Linked DNA regions of Homo sapiens: all the other regions are linked to region 1. The links are contacts of gene promoters, found by promoter capture Hi-C in blood cells and fetal thymus (Javierre and others, 2016). All regions are on one chromosome and are shown on one strand. Each heading gives the region's core, a stretch centred on a gene start or on the middle of the fragment in contact. The rest is flanking DNA. Distances are from core to core; before and after follow the strand shown. Region 1 holds the start of SNRNP48 (small nuclear ribonucleoprotein U11/U12 subunit 48). Region 2 overlaps SSR1 (signal sequence receptor subunit 1). Region 3 overlaps CAGE1 (cancer antigen 1). Region 4 holds the start of RREB1 (ras responsive element binding protein 1). Region 5 overlaps BLOC1S5-TXNDC5 (BLOC1S5-TXNDC5 readthrough (NMD candidate)). Region 6 has its middle 50 kb from the start of SSR1. Region 7 overlaps RREB1 (ras responsive element binding protein 1).

Region 1 (3,423 bases), core at 53-2,552:
TCAAATATATTTTAAATGCCTCTGAGGAATCAGTCATGTAACTTAAACCCAGGAGAAATTATCACAGCATGGTAAACCCAGAAGTAATAGTAAAGATAATGAATTACCCCACATTGGAGCACTTCCCTTCCTCTCATTCCACCGAAAATACCCCACAAAAAAACAAAAATCACGAATGTTCACTCTAAATACACTTGCCTACATTTTTAAAAAAGCAATTCTAATGTCCACAGGAGTTGCCAGTTACCACCTCTTGGTGACAACCTTTAATAATCCTAGAATTGGTGCTGTCCCAGTCAGAAGTGTCCAATTTTAAGGCACAGAAAGGCGAACTGGCAAACTCCCAGCTCTCCTGACACCGAATCTGGTGCAACTGCGGAATCCGTATGACAGATGACAATGCAAACCGCCAATCCCTCTGCAGCGCTCTGAGACACGTTCACTTATTTTCTAAATAAATACCAAATCTGCCATTCCCTCCTCACTCAACACACCTTCCTGGATTTTGTTTGTTTGTTTTTTGAGACAGGGTCTTGCTCTGTCGCCCAGGCTGGAATGCAGTGGAGCGATCTCGGCTCACTGCAGCCTCGACCTCCTGGGCTCAAGCTATCCTTCCACCCCAGCCTCCCAAATAGCTGGGGCCACAGGCTCACACCACCACACCCGGCTAATTTTTGTACTTTTGGTAGAGAAGAGGTTTCACCATGTTGCCCAGGCTAGTCTGGAACTCCTGGGCTCAAGGGATCCTCCCGCCTTGGCCTCTCAAAGTGCTAGGATTACAGGCGTGCGCCACCGCGCCCGGCCCCCGGTTTTCTTTAAACTCGAAGTTGCGCGGGAGGAGCGCCGCACTGGAGGTCGATGTGGAGCCTTCGGGAGTTCCTCGCGCGCCCCAGCCCGGAACCCAGGGACGTCAGGGTTGCTCCAGGGCCCCCGGCGCCCCTCGGGTCCCAGGCGCCCATCGCGGCTCTGCACACGGACGAGGACTCCTCGCCCTTCCCTCCGCGGCTGCCAGTGCGGATCTCCCTTCTTCCAGAGAAGACCCCGGGCCGATAGTCCCCGAAAGGGCCCCGCGGCCGCGCTCCTCACCTCCGCCGCCTCCTCTTCCCCGGGATCCAGACTATCTAGGTCCCAGCCCAGGGACGCGGTCACCTCCTCCAACGTCCGGCAGCCGCTCTCCACGAACTCGTTCAGCTCCTCCTGCAGCCGCCGCCGCTCCTCCACAGGTGGAGGCTCGCCCTCCATAGCTGCAGCCCACCCGCCAAGAGGAAGCGGCCGAACTGCAGACCGCACGCGCAGGCCTCTGGGAGCTGTGGGCGGGGCCACAGTCGCCACGTGACTTGAACAGCCTATAGGGAAGAGTCCCGGGAAGGGCGGGACTGTTATTTTGAGAGGCGTTTTCCAATCTTTTCTCAGCTCTTGCGTGCATTTGCTCTGGCCTTTCCAGAAAGATATTCGCCCTCCTCGACTTCCTCAGAAAAAACGGCTTATAGCTACAGAAAAGTTTTAAAAATAGTACAATGAGCTTTCGTTTAGCCGTCCTTCAGCTCATTGTTAACATTTTGCCAGGTTTGATTTCTCTCCGTCTCTTCTCTCCACATTCACAGCCCCACCCAATGATTTTTGCTGAATTCTTTGAAAGTAAGTTGCAGATTTTTCACCCCCAAATATGTTAGCATGCATGTTCTAAGAATAAGAACATTTTCCTGTGTAACCGCAATACATGATCAAACCTAAGAAAATTAGTAAGTCCATAAAATCATTTATTATACAGTTCATATTCAAATTTCCCCATTGTCCCCAAAATTATTTCTATAGCAGTTTTATTTTTTCAACTCATAAGCTATAATTAGTTATTGTCTCTTTTAATCCAGATCAGCCTCCTTCACCCTCCTTTTTAAATTATTAAATCATTACATGTTGTGATGAGCCTAGGCCAGTTGTCTTGTAGAATCTCTCTCATTCTGGATTTGTCAGATTTTGTTTCCCTCATGATTAGATTCAGTTTGAGCACTTTTGCAATACTACCTAAGAGATGTTGCCAACTCACGGGGACGCATAACTCAGTTATATTAGTAATGCTAAATTTGATCACTTGGTAAAGGTGGTGGCTACATCTCTTCATTCTAATAGTACATTTTCCTCTTAGGAATTGGTAAGCAATCTGTGGATTATACCTTGAGTCCATAAGAATAACCTGTTCCCCAACTCCTTGATACAGTCCTTCACTGAATCTGTTGTTACATTAGGAGTTATAAGTGATTCCGCAATAGTATCATGCCTTTTATGTTTATTAACTGGCATTCTTTCCACACCTCCATTTTAGTGTTTGCTTCACTATGGGAATCAAGGTGTTTTTAAAGTTATTGATTTAAGGTTTTTTTTTAATTCAATATAATATACTCCTTTAACATCATAATTCTTGTTGATGCTCAAATTGTCCCAAATGTGGCCAGTGGAAGCCACATTAAGCCATCTGTGTCTTTCATGTATCCCTATTAGTCCTTGAATGCTTTCTTGCTTTGATAACACAAGCTTAACTTTGTACATTTCCTACCCAACACCTGGAATTAGCCCTTGTAGTTTCCCCAAATGGTTTCAACTCCTAGAATCTAACCCATTTTATATTACTTTTTAAAATTTTTTCAAGCCCAAGTGTCAAACCTTGGTTTCCTTTTGCACTTTGTTTACCCATGTGAAGGAACTGTGGGGGAATTTTTTGGTGAACAATTATTTCTAAAGGCAAATAGCACGGTTCTCACTTAAAAAAATAGTCATAAGACTATAAATAGGCAGCACCATAAAATACAGAAGTGGCTAGAAGCTGGTAAGAGAGGAGTATGAAGTTAATGTATTCATACTCTGCCTACAGTATCTTTTTTTTTTTTTTTTTGAGACGGAGTCTGGCTCTGCCACCCAGGCTGGAGTGCAGTGGCGCAATCTCAGCTCACTGCAACCTCCATCTCCCGGGTTCAAGCAATTCTTCTGCCACAGCCTCCCGAGTAGCTGGGACTACAGGCACATGCCACCACACCCTGCTAATTTTTCTATTTTTAATAGAGATGGGGTTTCACCATATTGGCCAGGCTGGTCTCGAACTCCTGACCTTGTGATCTGCTCGCCTCAGCCTCCCAAAGTGCTGGGATTACAGACGTGAGCCACCGCGCCCAGCCCGGTATCCTTACTTTTTATTTGCATTTCCATAGTTAGCTGGTTGGTCTGGAAAAATGTGAGACTATTTCTGATGTGACATGACTCCTGATAAAAAGTTCTAGTGTATATTTCCCTGTTTGTATATGTGAACCAAATTAAAACTTAGCCCACGTCAAACATATCCTCTCTTCAGGATACAGCCCCATGTCATCTCAGAGCTTCATGACAACATTGGCACAAGCCTGGAGGGAGTAGGAAAGATTTGTCAATTGA
Region 2 (3,626 bases), core at 1,127-3,626, 310 kb after region 1:
CTCTTCACTTTGAAATCTAACAACTCAGAGAACATTGAAGAAATTGGAATTTAGTTGGGATGAAATACTTGTGGTTTAAAATATTTCTGTTCATATTTTCTAATTTGTTGCCGGAGGTCTTGGGTTTTCTATTTGAGTGCTTGCAAACTCAATGTGATTTCTGTCAGCATATCTTAGGTTTGTTTGTTATGAAACTTATGCAGTGTGAGGTTCTATCTGAAAATGTTATTTAGCTATCTTCTGGGACTATTTAATGAAAGTGGGGTCATGAATCCTTAAAATTCTTGTGCAGCTTTGAGAAACATTTCTGTTATTTGGGTATCAGTTTGTAAGTGTGGTAAAGCCAAGATGGAAACGAGCACTTTGCTTTCTTGGTTGTTGTTACTGGTCTAACCTCCTGCTTGAACTAGTCTGCTGTCCTGTCAAATGCATCTTTTTATTTACATGTCCCTTAAATTAAAGCTGATCATGAAAGTATTTGTGTGCAACATGAAATGTTTTCTAAAGTACCAGTGCATATTCCTGCTTGGTCTCAAGACGCACGAGGAATCCAAAATAGAAGCAAAAAAAGAAAAGAAAAAAAATCACAATTTTGATCGGAATGTCCTCCTGGAAATTATTTAAAAGTTTGGCCGGGCACGGTGGCTCACGCCTGTAATCCCAGCACTTTGGGAGGCTGAGGTGGATGGATCACAAGGTCAGGAGTTCAAGACTACCTTGACCAATATGGTGAAACCTCGTCTCTACTAAAAATACAAAAATTAGCTGGGCGTGGTGGCACGCGCCTGTAATCCCAGCTACTCATGAGGCTGAGGCAGGAGAATCACTTGAACCCGGGAGGCAGAGGTTGCAGTAAGCTGAGATCACGCCACTGCACTTCAGCCTGGGTGCTTCCGTCTCAAAAAAAAAAAAGTTCACACATTTTTAGACATTTCAGTGATGTTTTAGAATAAAGGTGATTTAAGATTGGTTTTACAGGCACTCTTGGGCTGTCAGCTAGTTGGCTTTTCAGATGATGATCATAAAGACACTCCCCCTCACGCAGGTATATGAGTAAGTAAGGTCTACCCCATCCACACTCCCATACTGACTTTCCATTCCCAATAATTGCACAGACTGCATACTCTGATCGCTTATTAAACATTTCTAAGGAAGCCGAGATGGATCTTTGATGTAATTTTCTCATCTGTATACCCAGCCAGTAAGTCAGTAGCACCTAAGATTTCTTTCCCTTCAAGATTGTATTCTAAGCAGTAGAATTAAAGTGTTCTTCATAGAAAAAGTAACTTTTAATTAGAGGCTGTGCAAACTCTGGAGAATCAGTCTTTGTTACCAGATAATAATGTTTTTAGCTTTTTCTGCTGAGAGGAAAAAATGCTTTGAAGAATAAAAAATACTAGAGCATAACAAGCTTGGGGAGTTAGGAAAAAATATATTAGGGCAGTAAGAACCAGCATTACGTCTTCTCTGCAATGCTTGAAACATTCAGTATTAAACTTTGGATTAATCCAAAGTCTGAAGAGAAATACACCAAAATGCTAAAGCCGTTTTTGGTTAGGATAGTGGACTTTTTTTTTCTTCTTCAGAATGTTTGTAATGAGCCTATATTTTATAATGGAAGCAATAAATGCAAATGTGAAATTTATCTGAGCCTCCTACAATGAGTATAATAAATCCAGTGGTTGTGGATAGCTTATTTGTGGCCCCAAAAGAAACGGAGCCACTTTTTAAAACTTGGATGCATTGTCACTACATAGTGAAAGAAAATCAAGATATTCTTTTTTTTTTTTTTTTAAACGGTGTCTCACTCTGTTGCGCAGCTGGAGTGCAATGGCGCAATCTTGGCTCACTGCAACCTCCGCCTCCCGGGTTCAAGCGATTATTCTGCCTCAGCTTCCTTAGTAGCTGGTATTACAGGAATGTGCCACCACGCCCAGCTAATTTTTGTATTTTTAATAGAGACGGGGTTTCACCATGTTGGTCAGGCTGGTTTTGAACTCCCAACCTCAGATGATCCACCTGCCTAGGCCTCCCAAAGTGCTGGGATTACAGGTGTGAGCCACCGCGCCCAGCCCAAGATAAGAGTCTTTTTTTGTTTTTGTTTTTTTGACACAGAGTCTTGCTCTGTCATCCAGGCTGGAGTGCAGTGGCGTGATCTCGGTTCACTGCAAGCTCCGCCTCCCGGGTTCACCCCATTCTCCTGTCTCAGCCTCCCGAGTAGCTGGGACTACAGGTGCCCGCCACCACACCCGCCTAATTTTTTGTATTTTTAGTAGAGACGGGGTTTCACCGTGTTAGCCAGGATGGTCTCGATCTCCTGACCTCGTGATCCACCCACCTTGGCCCCCCAAAGTGCTGGGATTACAGGCGTGAGCCACCGCACCCGGCCCCAAGATAGATTCTTAATAGAAAACCCTTGAAAGTATTTCTCCTTTTCAGGGACTCAGCCTTTCTCTTTGCTGTTTGTAAAAACATGAGCTCCTCTCTGCTGCCGAGTTGGTGCCAGGCCAGTGCTCAGTGCAGCCACTCCTGCCCCACCCCCTTGCCTCTCGGGCTTTATGCCCACAAGAGTCCAAGCCACTCTATCAGATCCTGACTCTTCTCTTCTGGAAACTCTCCTCTGGCTTCCACTGGCATCTAGGTGAGCACAAGTGCTCCACCACTGCCTGCAGGGCTCTCCAGTATCTCGCCCTCCCTGCCTTGCCCCTTCCTGTGCTGCCCTCCAGGCTTCCTGGCCAGCCACCTCCTCATCTTCTACCCTGCCAGGCTTGTCCAGGATCAGGGCCTTGGCAGTAATCCCCTCTGCCCAGGTCTCAGCCCCCATCTTCCCTGCTCTTAGTCTTCCTGAAAACTCCCCTCATGGAAGGCCCCACACACCCTGCTCTGTTCTCATTATCTTCACCACTATCAGAAGTTACCTTGGGCTGGCCGCAGTGGCTCACACCTGTAATCCCAGCACTTTGGGAGGCTGAGGTGGGCAGATCACTTGAGGTCAGGAGTTCGAGACCAACCTGGCCAACATGGTGAAACCCTGTGTCTACTAAAAATACAAAAATTAGCCAGGTGTGGCGCGCACCTGTAATCCCAGCTACTTGGAAAGCTGAGGCAGGAGAATCACTTGAACCCGGGAGGCAGAGGTTGCAGTGAGCCGAGATCATGCCACTGCACTGCAGCCTGGGCGACAGAGCAAGTCTCTCTGTCTCTCAGCCTGGGCGACAGAGCGAGACAGACTCTCTCTCTCTCTCTCTCTCTCTCTCTCACACACACACACACACACACACACACACACAGAAGTTACCTTGTCCTTCCATTGCCCATCACCCCTTGTGAATGTAAGCTTATGACAGCAAGAATTTTGTCACCAGCTCACCAAGTCTTAAAACAGGACCTGACACACGTGGTAGGTGTTTCATGTGAATTATTTATCACACTGTGAAGTAGGTGTATCTCCATTTTGCAAATAAGGAAATTGAACACAGGTTAAATTAACTTGCCAGAAATTCCACAACCGTTAAGTGGCAGAGCTGGACACAGGTTTGTGTGTCCTGTTCACAAATGCGTGCATCTCTGGCTGGGAACTTGCAGGGTTATGGATCAGACTGCTCCACCTTGAGAAGTGGAAATGG
Region 3 (3,458 bases), core at 891-3,390, 260 kb after region 1:
GATTTTTGTCTACAACAAAACTACTTGCCCTGCTCTGTATTTTATCACCATATTTTCTTACAGTAACATTAAGCCTCACAGTCTGCTATTTTAGAAGAGGCTCAACATCTGATGCTACAAGATGTATGCGCAAACCCTGTGTGGTTGATTAAGAACACAGCAGTATAGGCAGGGCACGGTGGCTCATGCCTGTAATCCTAGCACTTTGGGAGACTGAGGCGGGTGAATCACTTGAGGTCAAGAGTTCAAGACTAGCCTGGCCAACATGGTGAAACCCTGTCTCTACTAAAAATACAAAAATTAGCCAGGCATGGTGGTGGGCACCTGTAATCCCAGCTACTCAGGAGGCTGAGGCAGGAGAATCGCTTGAACCCGGGAGGCAGAGGTTGCAGTGAGCTGAGATCGTGCCACTGCACTACAGCCTGGGCAACAGGGCAAAAACTCCATCTCAAGAAAAGAAAAGAAAAAAAAAAGAACACAGCAGTATGTTAAAATGAGACTCTTTCTAGCCCAGTTCCTTAGGTGCTAATAACACTGTTACCAGTTCCCAAAGTGAGAGTGAGTTTTTCCCATGTGCAGAGTTTCCGAAATAAATGATTTCAGAGAACCCCTTCCATGACTCCTATCTCTTGGCCAGATCCAAGATATAAAAGTATGGAGAGTAGGGAAGATTGGAGAAGGATTTCTTCGAATCTGTCGTGTCATGAGTTCCTGTCTCCCAGGTAATTCTACCTCTTTTACCTAAAGCCTTATGAGGAGTTTCCAGGGAATCACCTAAAGAGCTTTGAAACGTGTTCCCTAAAAGTTGGGAAACACAGAGGACTGGTGATTCATTCATGCCTAAGAAAACTAAGGCAAGCTGTGGCTGCTCAGCAGAGGGGCTGTGTTGGATAGCTTTTCTCTCTGAGCTTGTTGAGACAAAGAATGGGTGTGAAAATCCCTTAAGAACCATGCAGTTGAGAGTTGAGTTATCTTCAGCTCTGCCCAAGGAGGCCTGGAAGCAGCAAGAAACTAGAAGAGAATGCCAGATTCTTCGGGGCTGATAGAGTATCGAGTGATCACCCAGAGGAGAAATGCCTCCGCGTAGGTCCTGGGAACTGCAGGACAGAGATCCCCAGCAACGGCAAGCTCCAAAGAGAAAGAATCAGCATTAGCCAATTGCCAAGCTGAGACTCTGAAGCCACCCAGCCAAGTATGAGCTGTCCTGTGGCCTTTGCTCTCCTCCTACAAATGGAGAGGGAAATGAGCAAAAAGGGGAAACTGGCCTCCAAAGACAGTGGTGTCCATCAGCTACAGACCTGAACTGATAGATGGGGAGGAGAAGCCCTGCTTTTGAGTGAAGATTAAAGGATTGATTAATATTAAGACAGTACAGTATACCTAATGAATTGAGACTGTTTATGCCTCACAGTGAAGACTGTTACTTTAGAGTAAGCAAAAGAAGCATTGGCCCTGCTGTGTATTCACCCAAGGAAGGGCAAAGGAAAAGCTTCTCTGAGTGCAAAAAGCTTAAAGTAGAAATGGAAGACCAAAATTAAAGTTGCATTTTGGTTTTGTCATAAGTCATGTTTGTTCAGCATACCATTTGCAAATACAACTGTTTTGAAAATCGGAGGCCCATTCCTTCAACCTCTGCTGCCACTGCTGCCACTGCCACTTCCCAGGAGGAGAGGAAGCGGGAGAGGAGCCCAAGTCTCCTGTCACCCAAGTCCTCCAGCTGCACCACCTCGAAGAGTTTAAGATGTTTGCCTATGCCAAGCTCGCCTGCACCCCCGCTCTGAAGTTCTATCTTAAACAGCGTAGAGTTGCATACAGACCTGGAGAGGGCTCTGTGGTATTTAATGGGGCCCAGAATGGTGTGTCTCAGCTAAACCAAAGAGTTTCAAACCAGGGCAATCAGCAGAGACATTGAGACTGGTGTGAAATGTAACGGTGCAGGCACTGCAACATTAGGAGTGGCTGGTTCTGCTGCTGGTATTGGAACAGTCTTTGGTAGCCTTATCATTGGTTATGCCAGAAACCCTGCACTAAAGTAGCAGCTGTTCTCATATGCTGTCCTGGGATTTGCCTTGTCCAGACTTACGGGTCTCTTTTGTTTGATGGTTGCTTTCTTGATTTTGTTTGCCATGTGATAAACCACTGCTTGACATGTTGGCAGTCATATTAATTACAGATGTAATTCTGTGTATCTTACCGTGACCCCAAAAACTATAGTGTTGGTGTCATGGAAATGTACGTTATTTCCAAGGTCATTTCATTAAAGATGTAAAAAAAGAAAGAGAGAAAGAAAATAGAAAACCCTTGGCAGATTTAAACTAGCATTTGCAAGTGATAGGTTAACTATGACTTTTTCCCCAAAATGAAAAAATGTGATCTGATCCTTGGCATACCACAGATGCTCAGTAAATGCTAATTTATACTGAAGATGGATCTTCTCTGAGTTGCTGAGAGAAACAATGGAATTTTTTTCCTAGGCTTATTTTAAAATAAGAAAATTTAAATATGAATTTACATGTGTTTCACCAGTTCAGACCTCTGTTTACTTATATTTGGCCTATTTTCACAATGGAGTCTAGGCCCATTTATATAGATTTAGACTGGCCTAGAAGCCAGGGGGTGAGATGGGCAGAAGAGCTCTCAAAGCCCTTTCCAGCCAAGAGGACATTTGTTAGAAAACTCCAGACCTACATCAGCTTTCAGCCACCACCCTCTGTGAAGCCTGTGATGACTGGCCCAATTGATCTCAGTATATTCGGCACTCAAACAAGCTTCAGCTTACTCTGCAGCCTCTCAAAATTATGGCATTGCTTTTGCCAGTTGTCTTCAGTAGTGGAAATAGTGGGAAATAAGGATACAAAAGCGAGTATCTGAATAGCCTCAGATGTTTTATTTTTGCCTCTAGTTCTTCATGACTTTCAAGGAAATTCATTAAGTTTTCAAGTCAGAATCGTATCCTAAGTAAATCTATGAGAATGTTAAATGTAGTGAGAGTGTGCCTCATCGTTATTTTATTTTATGTATTTTTTTATTTGAGATGAAGTCTCACTCTGCTACCCAGGCTGCAGTGCAATGGCGCGATCTTAGCTAACTGCAGCCTCCACCTCCCAGGCTCAAGCAATTCTCCGCCTCAGCCTTGTGAGTAGCTGGGTTTACAGGTGCGTGCCACCATGCCCAGGTAATCTTTGTATTTTTGGTAGAGACAGGGTTTCACCATGTTGGCAGGGCTGGTCTTGAACTCCTGACCTCAAGTGATCCACCCACCTGGGCCTCCCAAAGTGCTGGGATTACAGGTGTGAGCCACCGCAACCTGCCTCATTGTTTTTATTTAAATGCACTGAGAATGATTCACATGTTATATACCAAAAAGCTTGATCTTAATCTCTGAGGGTCTCATAGTTCTATCTTAAATGACGATTTCTCCTTGAAAGTGAGGGGAAAATATGCTAAATAATGGCAAC
Region 4 (3,301 bases), core at 630-3,129, 480 kb after region 1:
GCAGCAGCAGCAGGAGCATCCTCAAACGAAGAAAACCCCTCCAAAGTGCCCCGAATGTGTGCTGCTGCTGGCTCTGAAGCCGTGTAGAATTTCGTAATGGAATGTGAACTGCTCGTCCGGATCTGGGCTCACGTTCTATCTCCTAACCAGTAAGGAGCGAGGGAGGGCAAATCTGCTGAGCAAGGAGAAATACTTTCCTCCTCTTTTATAACCCATCACGGATGCACGGCGGCCGAGGGGCGCGAGCTGCACGCGGCGCCTGTCAAGCGGCCCGGGCCCGCACCCCGTGGGGTCCCCGCGTCCCCCAGCTCCCCGCCCCGCCCGGAGAGAAAGGTGGCCTCGCCCATCGGTGGGCTCGGCCGACGCGCCCCGCACTCACGCGCGGCCGCGGAGCAGGTCACATCCTCGACGCGCCCTTGGCCCGGTCCAGAAAACACGCCGCTTCCCAGGGAGGGGGTCGGCGACGGGAAGGACCTCCCCTGCTCCTTAGCAACCATTAAGGTCGCAGTTTCCTAAGAGACCGCGAGCGGGGAGGGGGCGCGGGGGGCCCGGCCCAAGGCTTGTGCGGGAAGTTGGGGGCGGGGGGGGCAGCAACAGGCCCCCTCCCCCCACCCAGCTAGACGCCGGGGGCCGGGATGGGAGGAGGAAGGGAAGCCCCAGAACTCGTGAAAAACTGGTCCAGCGGGCGGCGGACAAAAGTTTCCGAGCGCGCTCCACAGCTGGGCGGCGGAGCGGGCCCCGGCGGCCGGCCCCGCCTCGGATGCTCCCGGCCTCCTTCCTGTGCTCGTGACGGCGCCGAGCCCCCCACCCCCCCCGCCCGCGAGGCAGGCTAGCTCCACACCGAGGGCTCCCACGAAAACACTCACCCCGCCAACGGAAGGGCGAGGGAACAATACGTGCCCGCACGGCTAGGGCCCGGTCCCCTCCTCCCCAGGCCCCCCGGGGCGGTGGTCGGCGTGACCACGACCGCCAGCCGGGAACCCGCGAGGGCGCGGGGCTGCCCGCGGCCCCCTCCCGGCCGGCGCCGTCCGCCCGGGAGGTTCAAAGTCCGCAGAGCAGGGCGCGGCGGATGCTCCCACCGAGCAGCCCCGAGCAGGCACCCCCGCGCGAGCACCCCGGGCAGGCACCCCCGGATACCTTAGGGCGGCGGCGGGAGGGCGGGCGCCGTCATCTCCGCGCTTCCCGGCCCGAGAAGGACTCGAAAGTATGTAGGAGAAAAGTTTCCCCTCCCACATGGGGGGGAGGATGTCGAGGGAGAGAGGGCGGAAGATGGAGAGCAGCGCTGGGAAGATGTTTCTGGCCGGCGGTGCGCGCACCATCCGAGTCCCGGCGGTGCTGGTTAAAAATAAACTCGGCGGCGCGGGTCGGGCCGGATTCCTGCGCTCGGACGGCTAATATGGATGCGCATCAGGTCCTGCTGGCGGGGCGCTGCGGCGGCTCGCGCTGGGAGCTGGTTGGCAGAGCCGGCGGCTCGGGAAAGGGAAAAGAGCGGAGGAAGGGGAGGAGGAGGAGGAGGAGGAGGAATGGCCCGGCGCGCAGCCCGAGGGGAGAGGGCTGCCCCGCTCATCCCTGGCCGCCCCGCCGGCCCGAGCGCACGCTGCGCGGAGTGGGGCGTGCGGGTCCCCGGCTCCGGGACACACCGAGTTTCAAAAGTACAACGCGCTCTGCAGACTTCACCCTCCCCATCCCCAAAGTTCTTTAAAAGGTCGCTCCGGCTGTGCCCCAGACTTCTCGCTGCCGCCGGCGTACCGCGAGTCGGAATCCGGGGCACGTACTTACGGCCGGGCAGGACGCTTGGCTCCCTGGCATGATGCGTTGGGGACCGGTGGGCTTCAGGGAGAGACCGAGGAGAGATGCAAACTTGTTCCGGAAAAGGAATCAAAATGGCGTTTCTGGATGTGCAAAGTTCATCAACTCCGCAGTCACTTCCCCTCCTCCTCTTCTCCCACAGGGAGGGAGGTGGGCGAGGAGCTGGCGACCCCGGCGCCCCAGCCGTCGTCCCGGCCCCCGTCTCGGCCCCCCGCCCAGCTTCCTCGCCCGCACGCTCGGAGTCTCGCTCTCCCCCTCTCACCCTGATAAGTAGACACATCACGTGTTGCTCCTGCGAGTCTCCTGGGGACGTGTTACTGAGCGGCCGCGGCGGCGGCGGCGGCGGCGGCGGCGGCGCTCGGACTGGGGGGGGTGAGGGGGAGGACCGCCGCCCCCGCCCCGACTTTAGCAGGGTGACCGCAGTTGCCATCCCGGGATGGATGGAGGTGGAGTCCCCTCCCCACCCCCCACCGCAGCCCCAGGTTTGCCCTACGCCCTCCCAAGGCGCCCCGGGCCATGGGAGGGCCGGGCTGCCCGAGGGGAAGGGTCCGGGAGGCCGCGACTGGCTGCGATCCCAATCGTCCCGTTGCTCGCGGGCCACCTTATTCGGCCACCGCGCCCCCTCCCCTGCAGCCCCTCGCCGCGGGCGACTCCCCGCCCCCGGCTTTCCATCACTTCACTCCGCAGTTTCACTATTTTAACGGAGGCGGGGGAGACACGGTGATGCCTCGGAATTGCGAGAGGGGCACCTCAGAGGCGCTGGAGTTGGGGGGATGGGGGGCGTAGGGCTCGGGGCCCTGGCCTGACGCCGCCCCTCTGGGTCTCCGAGGCATCTGCGAGGGGGAGCCCCGCCCGCGCCGTTTCCTTTCCACGCGGTCCTCGCTCTGCATCCAGGTGGGGCGAGTGGATGATGGGGCAGGAGATTAAGGAGCAGGCGCTTCACCCCGCCCCTAGCTTCGAGCCGTTTCTCTCCCGGGGCCATCCTTCTTACTCGGGCTGCCGCCCTGAGTGTGCTCGCCGTCTAACAAACTCAACTCCGACCCGACTTTGGTCCCCCTCCCTTACCCACACCCCACAAAGGATGCTTCAGCGGGGAACTGCCGTGGCCGCCAGGGGCTGAGGACGGTTCCTGCCGCCACTGTGTCCCCACCCCGCGATGGAATGGCTGATGCTGTGTCATCCACGTCGCCCTCCAAGGCTTCAGAGAAGCCACACGCAGTATCTCTTTCTCTCAGAGGGCTCCTGTTTCAACTCTGAAAAGCAGGGGCCCTTCTCCGAGCCGCTCTCCATCTCTCCAGCTCCTGCCACCACGCTTCGCACTGGCTGCCTTGCCCCAAGTTATCACGGAGCCCAGAGAAACCAGGCCTGGGCTGTGCTTCCTCCATAAAGCAGCTGACATGTTTCCAACTGTTAATACTTCTCCTACCGAGGTTCTGAAAGGGGTCTGTTCTCAGCCTTTGGAAACATCTTCAGAAAGATAAGGATGATTGTG
Region 5 (3,525 bases), core at 446-2,945, 420 kb before region 1:
AGGCTCATCAATCATTTGCTGGTACCTGGACTAAAAAGCGCACTTGCTGACACCAAGGCATGTTGGAATTTTCTTAATTCAGTGGATGGAAAAAGAAATACTTCCAAAAATATCCCACACATGAAAAGGGAGGGGAGCCTTAAATGAAAATTCCCTTTGTACCGTAGACACTTTTTGGAATGCGATTAATTGCCAACACATCATTGAACGAATGCTGTAACCAAGAAATTAAGATTGTGTGTGTGAAGGGAATATATTCTTAACTGTGGCTACCCAACTTGTATAGCAAAGATTTCTGATAGTTTGTGTTCATCTCATGTGAATAATAAATACTTTACCCTATAAGTTTGTTTATTATTCCATAAATACCTAAGGGACTTCCTAAACCAAAATGAATTGATGGGCTTTTTGAGCTTTAGACATTAAGATACTCAATTGTTTCTTGTAACATTTTTAACTATTCAACATAGCTTCTATAAGAGTTGGTTTATTTACCTTCCTTTTGATATTCGACATAGCTTCTATAAGAGTTGGTTTATTTACCTTCCTTTTGATATTTTTAGTGGTGAACGCTTTTGCTTCTGTTTCCTAGTTGCCAAATCACTTTTTATATATATTTTATTTATATGTAAAAAACAATTTTAATAACTACATAATTTGTAACATTTCTTTCCTTTTTTTTTTTTTTTTTTGCGCGACAGAGTCTCACTGTGTCACCCAGGCTGGAGTGCAGTGGCGCGATCTCGGCTCACTGCAAACTTTGCCTCCTGGGTTCAAGCAATTCTTGTTCCTCAGCCTCCTGAGTAGCTGATATTACAGGCATGTACAACCATGCCCAGCTAATTTTTATATTTTTAGTAGAGAAGGGGTTTCACCATGTTGGCCAGGCTGGTCTCGAACTCTTGACCTCAAGTGATCTGCCCACTTCAGCCTCCCAAAGTGCTGGGATTACAGGCATGAGCCACTGTGCCTAGCCAGTTTGTAACATTTCTGCTGTGTTTGTGCTGTTGAGCAGAGATATTGTGGGTTCTATGTAGCTCATAGGATTATTGCAATGATCAAATGAAATAATGTTTTATAATTTTAAAGCACCATAGAAAGATTTGTTAAGTTCTATGTATTTTTAATTTTTAATTATGATTTCTTTCTCGACTAACATATGTATGAGGCTTTTTTTTCCCATTTCCTAGCGTGTATATTTTTAAATTCTGTGTTTATTGATTCCTGTTTTAATTGAATTTGAATTGTGGACAGAAAATAGGTACATGTTAAGACTGATCTGTTAATATTTGTTGAGATTTGCTTTATGACCTAGATTATAACCTGTTTTTGTAAATGTTTCATGATTGCTTGAAAAGTATGCTTGTTTTTTAGTTGTTGGATGTCCATTAGACCAAAGTTGTTAATTTTGTAGTTCAAATTTTTTCCATTTTACTATTCTTTTGTCTTCTACTTGATCTCTCAGACTCTGAGATGTGTTGAAATTTTCTATTCTAGTGAACTTACCAATTTCTCCCTGTAATTCTGTCAATTTTAGTTTTATATATTTTTATATATTTTGAAGTCTTGTTATAAATAAATAATTATAAATATATACATAAATATAAAAATACATAAACTATATATTATATTTATATGGATTATGCCAGCTAGCTGGATTTATAGGATATATCTTTTTTCATCCTTCTGTTAAACCTTGCTGTTATGTTTTAGATATGCCCTTTAAAAACTGTGTGACTGGGGCCGGGGACGGTGGCTCACGCCTGTAATCCCAGCACTTTGGGAGGGCGAGGCGGGCAGATCACGAGGTCAGGAGATTGAGACCATCCTGGCCAACATGGTGAAATCCCATCTCTACTAAAAATACAAAAATTAGCTGGGCGTGGTGGTGTGCACCTGTAGTCCCAGCTACTCAGGAGGCTGAGGCAGGAGAATTGCTTGAGCCCAGGAGGCAGAGGTTGCAGTGAGCCGAGATTGCGCCACTGCACTCCAGCCTTGGTTACAGAGCGAGACTCTGTCTTAAAAAAAAAAAAAACTGTGTGGCTGGATGTTTTTCTTTCTTTCTGATCATTTGTCAACTAAGGAGTTCAATCCATTTACATTTGTCAAAGTTACTGATATATTAAGATTTATTTGTATCATCTTATTTTGTGCTTTTTGTCCCACCTTTTCTGTTTCTTGACTTCTTTCAGCTTGAGTTTGTTTTGTTTCATTTTTCCATCTACTTTTCTTCTGCTGCTTTCAAAGTTAAACATTTCCCAGTTTCCAAATCAGTTTTGATATGTATTTTATTTATATGTAAAAATTAACTTTTAATGAAGTGCTTAGTAGGAAATTTAACTTGCGTAGTTAACAGAATCTAAAATTAACATCTTTACTCTCTTCCTATTCTTTAGAGATTTTTGTACAAAGTCTGATTTATCTCTTCAACTTACAAATTGTTGTCTAGAATTCTAGTTCTATCTCGATTTTACTACAAAAGTAGTTATTTTGTATAGTCAGTGTTTATGTAGATTTACCTAGAAGTTTGCTATTTTATTATCCTTGAAAGTTAGCTAGGTATACGATTATAGGTTGACAGCTGTTTTCTCAAATAATATTCTACTGTCTTCTTGCTTCCATTGCTGCTTCTGAAATGACAGTTGTCAGTCTGATCAGTATTTGTAGCTAATCTGCCTTCTTTCTCAGGTCATATTTAAGATCTTTATCTTTGGTGTTCTACAGTCAAATGTGGCCATGCTACAGTATGTTTAGCTGTATATTTCTTTTCATTGTCCTGTTGGGATTGATTGAGATTCCTGAATCTGAGAATTGGTACTTTTCATAAATTCTGAAAAATTCCCAGCTACTGTCTCTTTGAATATTGTATCTCCCTCATTCTCTCTATTCTCTCCTTTAGGAAATAAAATTAAGACTTCTGTTTTATGATCTCACTGTCCTCTCCATATCTCTTAATCCCTGTTTTATATTTCCCATCTCTCTGTCTCTAGGTGTTGAATTCTGGATAATTTCTTTAAATCTATTTCATTAATACTGTCTTCACTCTATCTCTAACCTATTTTACCCATCTGTTGTTAATTATAGTTATTATTTTTTTTATTTTCAAAAGAGTTGTTTGGTTCTTTCTTAAACTTTCCTGGGTTGTCTGGGATGGTTCCATTATTCCTTCTTTTTCTTTTCTTTAAACATATTAAAAGTACTTATTTTACATTCTGTACGTGGTAATTTCAGTATTTTTTGTGGATCCAGATTTATAGTTTGTTGCTTGTTTTTGCTGAAACAAGTTTATGGTGACGAGTTTCCTAATGTGATCAGTCATTTTTTATTTTAAGTTTGCATTCCTCTGAACTTTCTTTTGGGAGATTTTTTTTTTTAATTTCAAATATAGTCCTACAGAGAAGATTTTTTTTCCCTGCAGCACCAATTTGTTTATTGTGACACTACAAACCACAGACCACTTCAAAATCAGTTTTCATCTTGGATTCCCTGTCTCTCCCTTTTCTACTCCTTAAGCTTTTGCACCCA
Region 6 (3,504 bases), core at 996-3,495, 330 kb after region 1:
AATTAGAAAAGCTTCTAAGCCTCTCTCTAGTATCAATAAAAAATAAAACCTGAGCTCCGGTCCCAGAATCCTCCGGCCTTCCCGGCATGTGGTGTGATGATGGTGTATACCAGGATCTTGTTCAACAACTCTGGGACACAAAGGGGACCCATGACTTTCACAGGCAAGCATTCCTGTGGTGGGCAGCAGGGTGGAGGAATATTGCGAGTTTACGGCCCACTCCCCCGGCTCAGGTGGGCAGCAATACCAAGACAGGCCAACAAGGGCATCGCCTCGTGGGGCCCCGCGCCCTGAAGTGCCCTTTTTGCCCAGATCCAGGACACCCCACGGCCTCTTAGAAAAGGAAACGTTTGGGCCAGGCAAGGTGGCTCACGCCTGTAATCCCAGCACTTTGGAAGGCCGAGGCTGGTGGATCACCTGAGGTCAGGAGTTCGAGACCAGCCTAGCTAACATGACGAAACTCCATCTCTACTAAAAATAACCAAAATTAGCCAGGCGTAGTGGCAGGCGCCTGTAATCCCAGCAACTTGGGAGGCTGAGGCAGGAGAATCACTTGAACCCAGGAGGCAGAGGTTGCAGTAAGCTGAGATTGTACCATTGCACTCCAGCCTGGGCAACAAGAACGACACTCCATCTCAAAAAAAAAAAAAAAAAAAAAAAAAAAGAAAGAAAAAGAAAAAAGAAAGGAAGAAAAAAAGAAAAGGAAACATTTGGCTGAGCGCGGTGGCTCACGCCTGTATTCCCAGGACTTTGGGAGGCTGAGGCAGGTGGATCACCTGAGGTCAGGAGTTGAGACCAGCCTGACCAACATGGAGAAACCCCATCTCTACTAAAAAGCTGGGCGTGGTGGTGCATGCCTGTAATCCCAGCTACTCGGGAGACTGAGGCAGGAGATCCCTTGAACCCGGGAGGCGGAGGTTGTGGTGAGCCGAGATGGCGCCACTGCACTCCAGCCTGGGCAACAAGAGTGAAACTCAGTCTCAAAAAAAAAAAAAAAAGGGAAGAAAAGAAAAGGAAACGTTTGTGCCTGCAGATGACAATTGTGCATATTATGTGGAAATATTTAGACAGGTCAATTTAGGGACACTATGAATCCTTCCCTCTATAATCAGATGTAAAATTAAGGCTATTCTTTTCCCAGCACTATAAAATGACTACGGTTGACATTGTTTGAGCCACCTCTTTTGAGAGTGTTGCATTGTCCCCACATGTCCCTGGGTATAGAAGACTGAGGGTCTATCTCAGTGTAGCCCTTAGGTTCTGAGGGAGGCTTGGGGGCTATCGCTTTAGGGGCTCGACTCATCTGCAGCTCTGTAGGCACTGTGTGTTCTGGGCAGTGGGCATTTTAAACCCATATGGGAGATGAAGATGACTGAGGCCCAGGGCTGCTGGATCGCACACAGAGAGTGAGGTGAGGGCTTGGACTGGGGCCGTTTGGCTCCAAATCCCATAAGCTGACCACACTATCGCACTCCCAGGGTACCCTTAGATCAGCCAGTCCCAGCCCTCCTTGCACATTAGAAAGCTCTCGGGAGCCAGGCCGGGCCCGTTGGCTCACGCCTGTAATCCCGGCACTTTGGAAGGCTGAGGCGGGTGGATCACTTGAGCTCAAGAGTTCAAGACCAGCCTGGCCAACATGGTGAAACCCCATCTCTACTAAAATTACAAAAAATTAGCTGGGTGTGGCGGCGGGTGCTTGTAATCTCAGCTACTCGGAAGGCTGAGGCAGGAGAATCGCTTGAACCCAGGAGGCGGAGGTTGCAGTGAGCTGAGATCATGCCATTGCACTCCAGCCCGGGCAACAGAACAAAAACTCCATTTCAAAAAAAAAGAGACATAGACTGAATAGCTAAAAGGTATTTGGTGCTGGGATAAGTTTTGGATGGTACACAAAAAAGAATAATTGCCTCCATCCTATCCTTCGGGATCTGAAAATCTAGCTGTGGAGACAGCTCAGCTTATTTTTAAAAAGGCAAATGTGCTCCAATGTATCGTAGGAACCAAGCGAGTGAACACCAGAGAGCTGGGGTAGTCACAGGGGGCCTCAAGGAGGTGGTGAGACTGAAGCAGCAGAACAGGATTTGGAAGAAGGATTTAGGATTTGGAGGGCTTTTTAGGGGAGGGCCAAAGAGAGGACAGGTGTGCCCAGGCATGCCCCGGGGGTGTGAGGGCAGCTGGATCCCAGGGTGTCTGAGAGTGGTCACCTGAGGGCATGCTCATTGGTGGGTGTGGCCATCACAGGACATGGCTACAAGGGGCGTGACTATCAAAAGCAGAGCCATTCAAGGTCGTGCCCATCTGTCGGCGAGGTCACCAGGGCCGTCTGTGGGCGTGGTCACCACAGGGCGTGGCTGCAAAGGGTGACAGATGGTGGTCATGGTCGGATGAGTTGGGAGGCAGAGGGTGGGCTTGGGCCTGTTTGGGAAGCAGAGCTTGGATGTCATTCTCCAAGCCTCAGAGGCCATTGGAGGTGTTGGGCAGGGAGGGTGCATGGACAAAGAGGTGCTTGAGGAACAGTGATCAGATATGTGCCAGCTTCAGCTGTCCTAGCGTCCCCATCCCTAGGTAGGCACTGGGAAGAAGAAAGGCGTCTGGAAGTCCCATCCAAATCCCCCCGCCGCCCCCACCTCGCCTCTCTGGCTTCACTGTGAAGCGGGTCAACTTTTTCCAAGGGCAGGAGAATGTGGTTCCCTGTTGCTTGAGGGGCTCTGCAGGCCGAAGGTAAGAAGTGCTTCTGCCCCTGCGGAAACCGGGTCAAGCTGGCCCGGCACCCTCATCCCTTTTCTACCTGAAGCAGAACTGCGGGTGGAGCCCGCACCGCAAACGCACGGCCTGTCTCTGGTGAAAAGAGCTGTCTTTGGGACCTTCCTCGCTGGGCTGTTCCAGCACTCAAGTCTCAGCGCTGCCATGTGACGCCCACGCCCCCTTCCCCTGTCGCGGGATCGACCCCTCTGGAGCTGCCGAGCGGCTGTCTCACCGCCATCTTCCCTTCTCTGGAAACATCCAAATCCCCACCCACTGCCCCAGGCCAGGCCAATCAGATGCGCTGGCCTGGAAATTCCACAGGCAGCAGGGAGAGCCCCAGAGTCCCCGGGCTGCGCTGCTGCAGAGGGCAGGGCCCGGACTCCGCGCTGCCGTCCTGTGTGTGGTTTTGCTTTGTTCCTTGTTTTTACCTTCTGTCAGCGCATCACCGGAGGCCTTTGGGTCGCCCCTCCTCCCTGGCCACTCCTCTCCCCCGGACCCAGCCCTCAGTCCCTCCCTGCCTCGCCCAGCCTGGCGCACTCAAGCACTTGCCCTGGTCGCTGTTCCTGGACACGCATGGACGCTAAAAGCCAGGCTTTCTCGCGCAGTCCGCATTTTATTTGCAAAGCGAAGCGGGTGCTGCATTGCGGTCATTCAGCCCTGCTGTCCCTTGGTCTCGGCAAGGGCTGCTCTGCCCTTCCACTGCTCTGGGTCCCAAACCAGCTCTGCCCACACCCTGCCCTTTGCCCATCGTCTCAGCCC
Region 7 (3,569 bases), core at 797-3,296, 340 kb after region 1:
CACACGGGCAAGCGCAGGGCAGAGCCGACTGCGCTGGGTCGGGGCACATGTGTTCACTGCGGGCTGCAGCTGTGACAGGGAGGGAAGCTGCGGCTGAGAGGAGGGACAGGTTATTTTGGAAAGAAGAAGGATATATCTCTGGACTCCATGAGCATATTCAGGTCTTTGTGTCAAAGTAAGCGCCCCTGCTCTGGGGTCTGCAGCCTCCACCCTGCAGGTGGTGGGTGAACTCTAGAACGGTGTGAAGGGCAGTGGCTAAGGGTCCTGTCCCAGTCATCTCAGCCGAACTGCACGGCTAAGAAAGGAAAAGGCCCTCCTGACCCTAATGGATCACCCAGGGTGCCTGCCCCACAGCGGCCTGGGGCAGTGCCTGTCGTCCAGGCCACAGGACTAGACAGGACTAAGTGGCCCAAATGCCCAGCACAAGCACCCTCTCCTAGATACCTCTATGAAACAGGGCAGCTGTTACCCCCACTCTACAGATGGGGAGGCGGAGGCAGCAGAGCTAAAGGCGGATCACAGCGTTCTCAAAAACACAACGGCCAAGGACCCTCTCCTGCCTGGCTGCAGGAGGCCTGCACCGTCTTCAAGGGCTGAGAGTACAACTCCTTAAAACTCCTAGTTCACGGGCTTAAAGGGCACACCGGCAACGTAAGCAAACGTTCTCTCGGTGGCCTCCAGCGCCGCTTCAGGGGAGCTCCTAGGAGAGGTGCCCGGCTCGCCTCCTCTTGTTGGGCCGGGGACCTGGCCTGCCCTGGTTACCTGTGTGGGAGCGCATGTGCCGGGTCAGGTCCTGCAGCGACCAGAACCGCTTGTTGCACACGCTGCAGACCTTCTTCCTCTTGTCTGCCTTGCTGGCCACGCTTTTGGGGGAGTCTGTCTTTGGTTTCTTGTCATCGTCGCTCTTCTCTGAGGACCTTTTCTCGGCCGCGCTCTCCCCGTCGGAGGGGCCCTCCGTCTCCTCCGCGAGCTTTTCCGCCGGGGCCTCCCCGGCACCCGGGGCCGACTCCACCACCTCTGCCGGGGTCTCGGGGGGCTTCTCCTCCTGTTCAGGGGCGGGCTGGGGCCCCTCCTCTGCAGTGCTGGCGCCATCTCCCTTCTCGTCCTTGGGCTCCTGGCGGCCGTGCGCCTTCCGGTGGCGGCTCAGGGTGCCCAGGAACTTGAAGCTCTTCCCACAGGTGTCGCAGGCGAGCTTCTGCTCCTGCGAGGCCGCGCCCCCGGCGCCTGCCTCGCCGTCGCCCTCCGCCAGCTTGAAGTCCATGAGCTTGGTGGCGAAGTCCAGGTCCAGGCTCTGGTTGCTCGACGCGTCCTCTTCCGCGCCGTCGGCGTCCCCAGTGCTCTCCTCAGTGCCATGCTCCTCCTCCGGCTCATGGCTCTCCCCACGCCCGTGCTCTTCCCGGTGCACCGGCGAGGCCGTTTCCGCCGTGGCCTGCTCCACAGGCGCATCCCCTGCGACCTGGCGGAGCTCAGTGGCGCCCTCCGACGGCTGCTCTCTGTCCCGTGAGGTGAGGTCTAGCACTTCGCCCGCGGCGGCTGCAGTCTCCGCATCCGACTGACTGTCTGTGGGGCAAGCACAGCGGGGAGGGCTCAGAGGGGCACCACCAGGTACGCCCATGCCAGGGATGTCGCCGGGAATGGGCTAGACCCACGCCAGCAGCCTGAACCCCAAACCAGTGAGGACTTCTTTCGGCCCAAATCCTCACCACCTGTTACATCCCCCAGGAGGACCAAGATGACCCTGGGGACGTGAAGAAAGGCAAAAGCAGCCTCCACATCACCTCAGGTGTGTTCCCAGGGCTGGCTGTGCCCCTGAACCCCTGGCTTCCACTGCCCCCGCCCCCAGGAAGGTGTGAGTGACTCAGGCAGGGCAGACAGGGGCTGCGAGATAGGAGAGGGGTGCATTCCAGAGACTCGCAGCGCTAGGGAAGTTGAGGAAGCTTGAGTTATAAGTTATTTTTCCAGTGCAAAGAGATCATACAAACATGCAACATACACAGGACCACCCCTACCCCTAATCCTCCAAAGCATGGTCTTGATGAGTTTCACAGGAAACGACCCCAAGCCTGCGTTGTGTGTGTATGGTATGCACACTCTTGCCTGACGCTCATCTCCAGGTGGAGGCTGCAGAGACCCAAGGGGGCGCAGGCAAGCTTGTAGGCTTCCTAGCTGTCAGCCTCCCAGGGGTGGTGGAATCTTTCAAAGGAAGGGCACCCTTGATGCCAGGCTTGGCAACAGCACACAGTGAGGGGAGCGGACTGTGAAGGGCTGTGGGTGCCTGTGAAGACAAGGGGTTCTGGGTTCCAGGCATCTCACCTACCCTGACTTCCTGCCTCTTGATTTGTTCCTATCTGTCCATTCCACCCAGTAAAACTGTATGTGGAAAGCCTATCAGTTTTCAACAGTCCTTTTAAGGGATGGCACGGCTGCAATATTCACATCAAACAGTGTCAAAAGGCCTTCTCTTTACTAAGGTTGAAAGAAGACTTAATAACTTCTTAAAATTATGCATTACGACAGTACATTGGAAGCTGGTGGGACCTATTATTTAGCTGCAGATCCTATGTCTGATTTAGTTTTTATTATTTTTTCAAGACGGAGTTTCGCCTTGTCGCCCAGGCTGGAGTGCAATGGTGTGATCTCCACTCACTGCAACCTCCACCTCCCGGGTTCAAGCAATTCTCCTGCCTCAGCCTCCCAAGAGCTGGGATTACAGGCGCCCACCACCACGCCCAGCTGATTTTTGTATTTTTAGTAGAGATGGGGTTTCATCATGTTCGCCAGGCTGGTCTCGAACTCCTGACCTCAGGCGATCTACCCACCTCAGCCTCCCAAAGTGCTGGGATTACAGGCGTGAGCCACCGTGCCCGGCCACTGTCTGATTTATTACTGCAGGGATTCAAGTTCCTCTGATAATTGGGTGGATGAAAGTCATTGTTTTATGGCACAAGTACGAGATGCCCCTCCCTCAATAGGCCAGATGTGATTGCAGTCCTTGAGCCAGCAGATTCACGCACCTAACCTGGATTCTCACTTGACGTGATCAGGTGTAACTACAATGTCAACCTGCATCCATCACACCTCCTCAATGTCACATGCTTGATGATTTGCCATCAAGGCGGTCAGGAGGGCTGGGGTAAGGAGCTGGTTCTGCCCCGTCCTGAGGTCTGAGGAGACAGTACCTACTGTTCACACCTGCTTGGGGCTTTAGGCTTTACCCACAGCCATCTGCATAACGCGGCTACTTACATCATTTCATTTCATTAGTTTTACACTGACTGCACTTTTTGGCAGCCACTGTTTGGGTATCTCAAGAGGTTTCAGAAAGAAATATTATGGTGTGAATATAACATTTTAAAGAAGAAATGATTTTGCAAAATTATCCAAAAGCTTAAAGAATATGAGTCCTGGGATATGCACACCAATGTCTGGGCCACATTCCAAGGAAAAACTAGATGTTCGTTTTTCTTGAATCATTTCAACAGAGAGCATCTATAGAATGGATATTGGTATAAACTCTACAATAAAAATACAGAACGCTCAATTTGTTTGCTGGCTTTGTGGGTAATTTC

Evidence for each region. The method cuts DNA at HindIII sites, captures the fragments that hold promoters and counts their contacts. A CHiCAGO score of 5 or more calls a contact.
Region 2: a fragment that was not itself captured here is called in contact with the fragment with the promoter of SNRNP48 in region 1 in 15 of 17 cell types (total CD8 T cells, naive B cells, total B cells and 12 more); the score reaches 13.2 in total CD8 T cells.
Region 3: a contact is called between a fragment that was not itself captured here and the fragment with the promoter of SNRNP48 in region 1, in 2 of 17 cell types (M1 macrophages and M0 macrophages). The highest score is 7.1, in M1 macrophages.
Region 4: a contact is called between the fragment with the promoter of RREB1 here and the fragment with the promoter of SNRNP48 in region 1, in 1 of 17 cell types (total CD8 T cells). The highest score is 6.3, in total CD8 T cells.
Region 5: a fragment that was not itself captured here is called in contact with the fragment with the promoter of SNRNP48 in region 1 in 1 of 17 cell types (M2 macrophages); the score reaches 5.3 in M2 macrophages.
Region 6: a contact is called between a fragment that was not itself captured here and the fragment with the promoter of SNRNP48 in region 1, in 11 of 17 cell types (M0 macrophages, non-activated CD4 T cells, activated CD4 T cells and 8 more). The highest score is 8.2, in M0 macrophages.
Region 7: a contact is called between a fragment that was not itself captured here and the fragment with the promoter of SNRNP48 in region 1, in 2 of 17 cell types (total CD8 T cells and naive B cells). The highest score is 6.0, in total CD8 T cells.

The regions. Positions count from the first base shown.
Region 1 is chr6:7,588,077-7,591,499 of GRCh38, reverse strand. It overlaps SNRNP48 (small nuclear ribonucleoprotein U11/U12 subunit 48), which reads right to left and starts at 1,302. Exons shown (of 9, transcript NM_152551.4): 1 at 1,087-1,302. The coding sequence starts at 1,242. RefSeq lists enhancers at 1,078-1,227, 806-1,545. The HindIII fragment of the contact is 5,411 bases long and covers 1-2,534 here.
Region 2 is chr6:7,277,994-7,281,619 of GRCh38, reverse strand. SSR1 (signal sequence receptor subunit 1) reads left to right here. Exons shown (of 8, transcript NM_003144.5): 8 at 1-477. Among named protein-coding and RNA genes, the nearest start is that of SSR1, 33 kb to the left of the region's middle. The HindIII fragment of the contact is 1,926 bases long and covers 1,414-3,339 here.
Region 3 is chr6:7,329,960-7,333,417 of GRCh38, reverse strand. The region is part of intron 12 of CAGE1 (cancer antigen 1); the gene reads left to right. Among named protein-coding and RNA genes, the nearest start is that of SSR1, 18 kb to the right of the region's middle. The HindIII fragment of the contact is 1,260 bases long and covers 1,511-2,770 here.
Region 4 is chr6:7,106,539-7,109,839 of GRCh38, reverse strand. It overlaps RREB1 (ras responsive element binding protein 1), which reads right to left and starts at 1,879. Exons shown (of 13, transcript NM_001003699.4): 1 at 1,780-1,879. RefSeq lists silencers at 511-600, 621-1,110, 1,901-2,120, 2,181-2,660 and an enhancer at 3,011-3,070. The HindIII fragment of the contact is 7,744 bases long and covers 1-3,301 here.
Region 5 is chr6:8,010,384-8,013,908 of GRCh38, reverse strand. All of the region lies in intron 4 of BLOC1S5-TXNDC5 (BLOC1S5-TXNDC5 readthrough (NMD candidate)), which reads left to right. BLOC1S5 (biogenesis of lysosomal organelles complex 1 subunit 5) reads left to right here. Exons shown (of 5, transcript NM_201280.3): 5 at 1-342. It overlaps EEF1E1-BLOC1S5 (EEF1E1-BLOC1S5 readthrough (NMD candidate)), which reads left to right. Exons shown (of 7, transcript NR_037618.1): 7 at 1-342. Among named protein-coding and RNA genes, the nearest start is that of BLOC1S5, 52 kb to the left of the region's middle. RefSeq lists a silencer at 1,650-1,858. The HindIII fragment of the contact is 3,640 bases long and covers 1-3,515 here.
Region 6 is chr6:7,260,973-7,264,476 of GRCh38, reverse strand. No RefSeq gene overlaps it. Among named protein-coding and RNA genes, the nearest start is that of SSR1, 50 kb to the left of the region's middle. RefSeq lists silencers at 1,943-2,118, 3,242-3,371 and enhancers at 1,816-2,607, 2,712-2,851, 2,922-3,041, 2,608-3,399. The HindIII fragment of the contact is 4,464 bases long and covers 14-3,504 here.
Region 7 is chr6:7,244,415-7,247,983 of GRCh38, reverse strand. RREB1 (ras responsive element binding protein 1) reads right to left here. Exons shown (of 13, transcript NM_001003699.4): 12 at 763-1,560. Among named protein-coding and RNA genes, the nearest start is that of SSR1, 67 kb to the left of the region's middle. The HindIII fragment of the contact is 213 bases long and covers 1,940-2,152 here.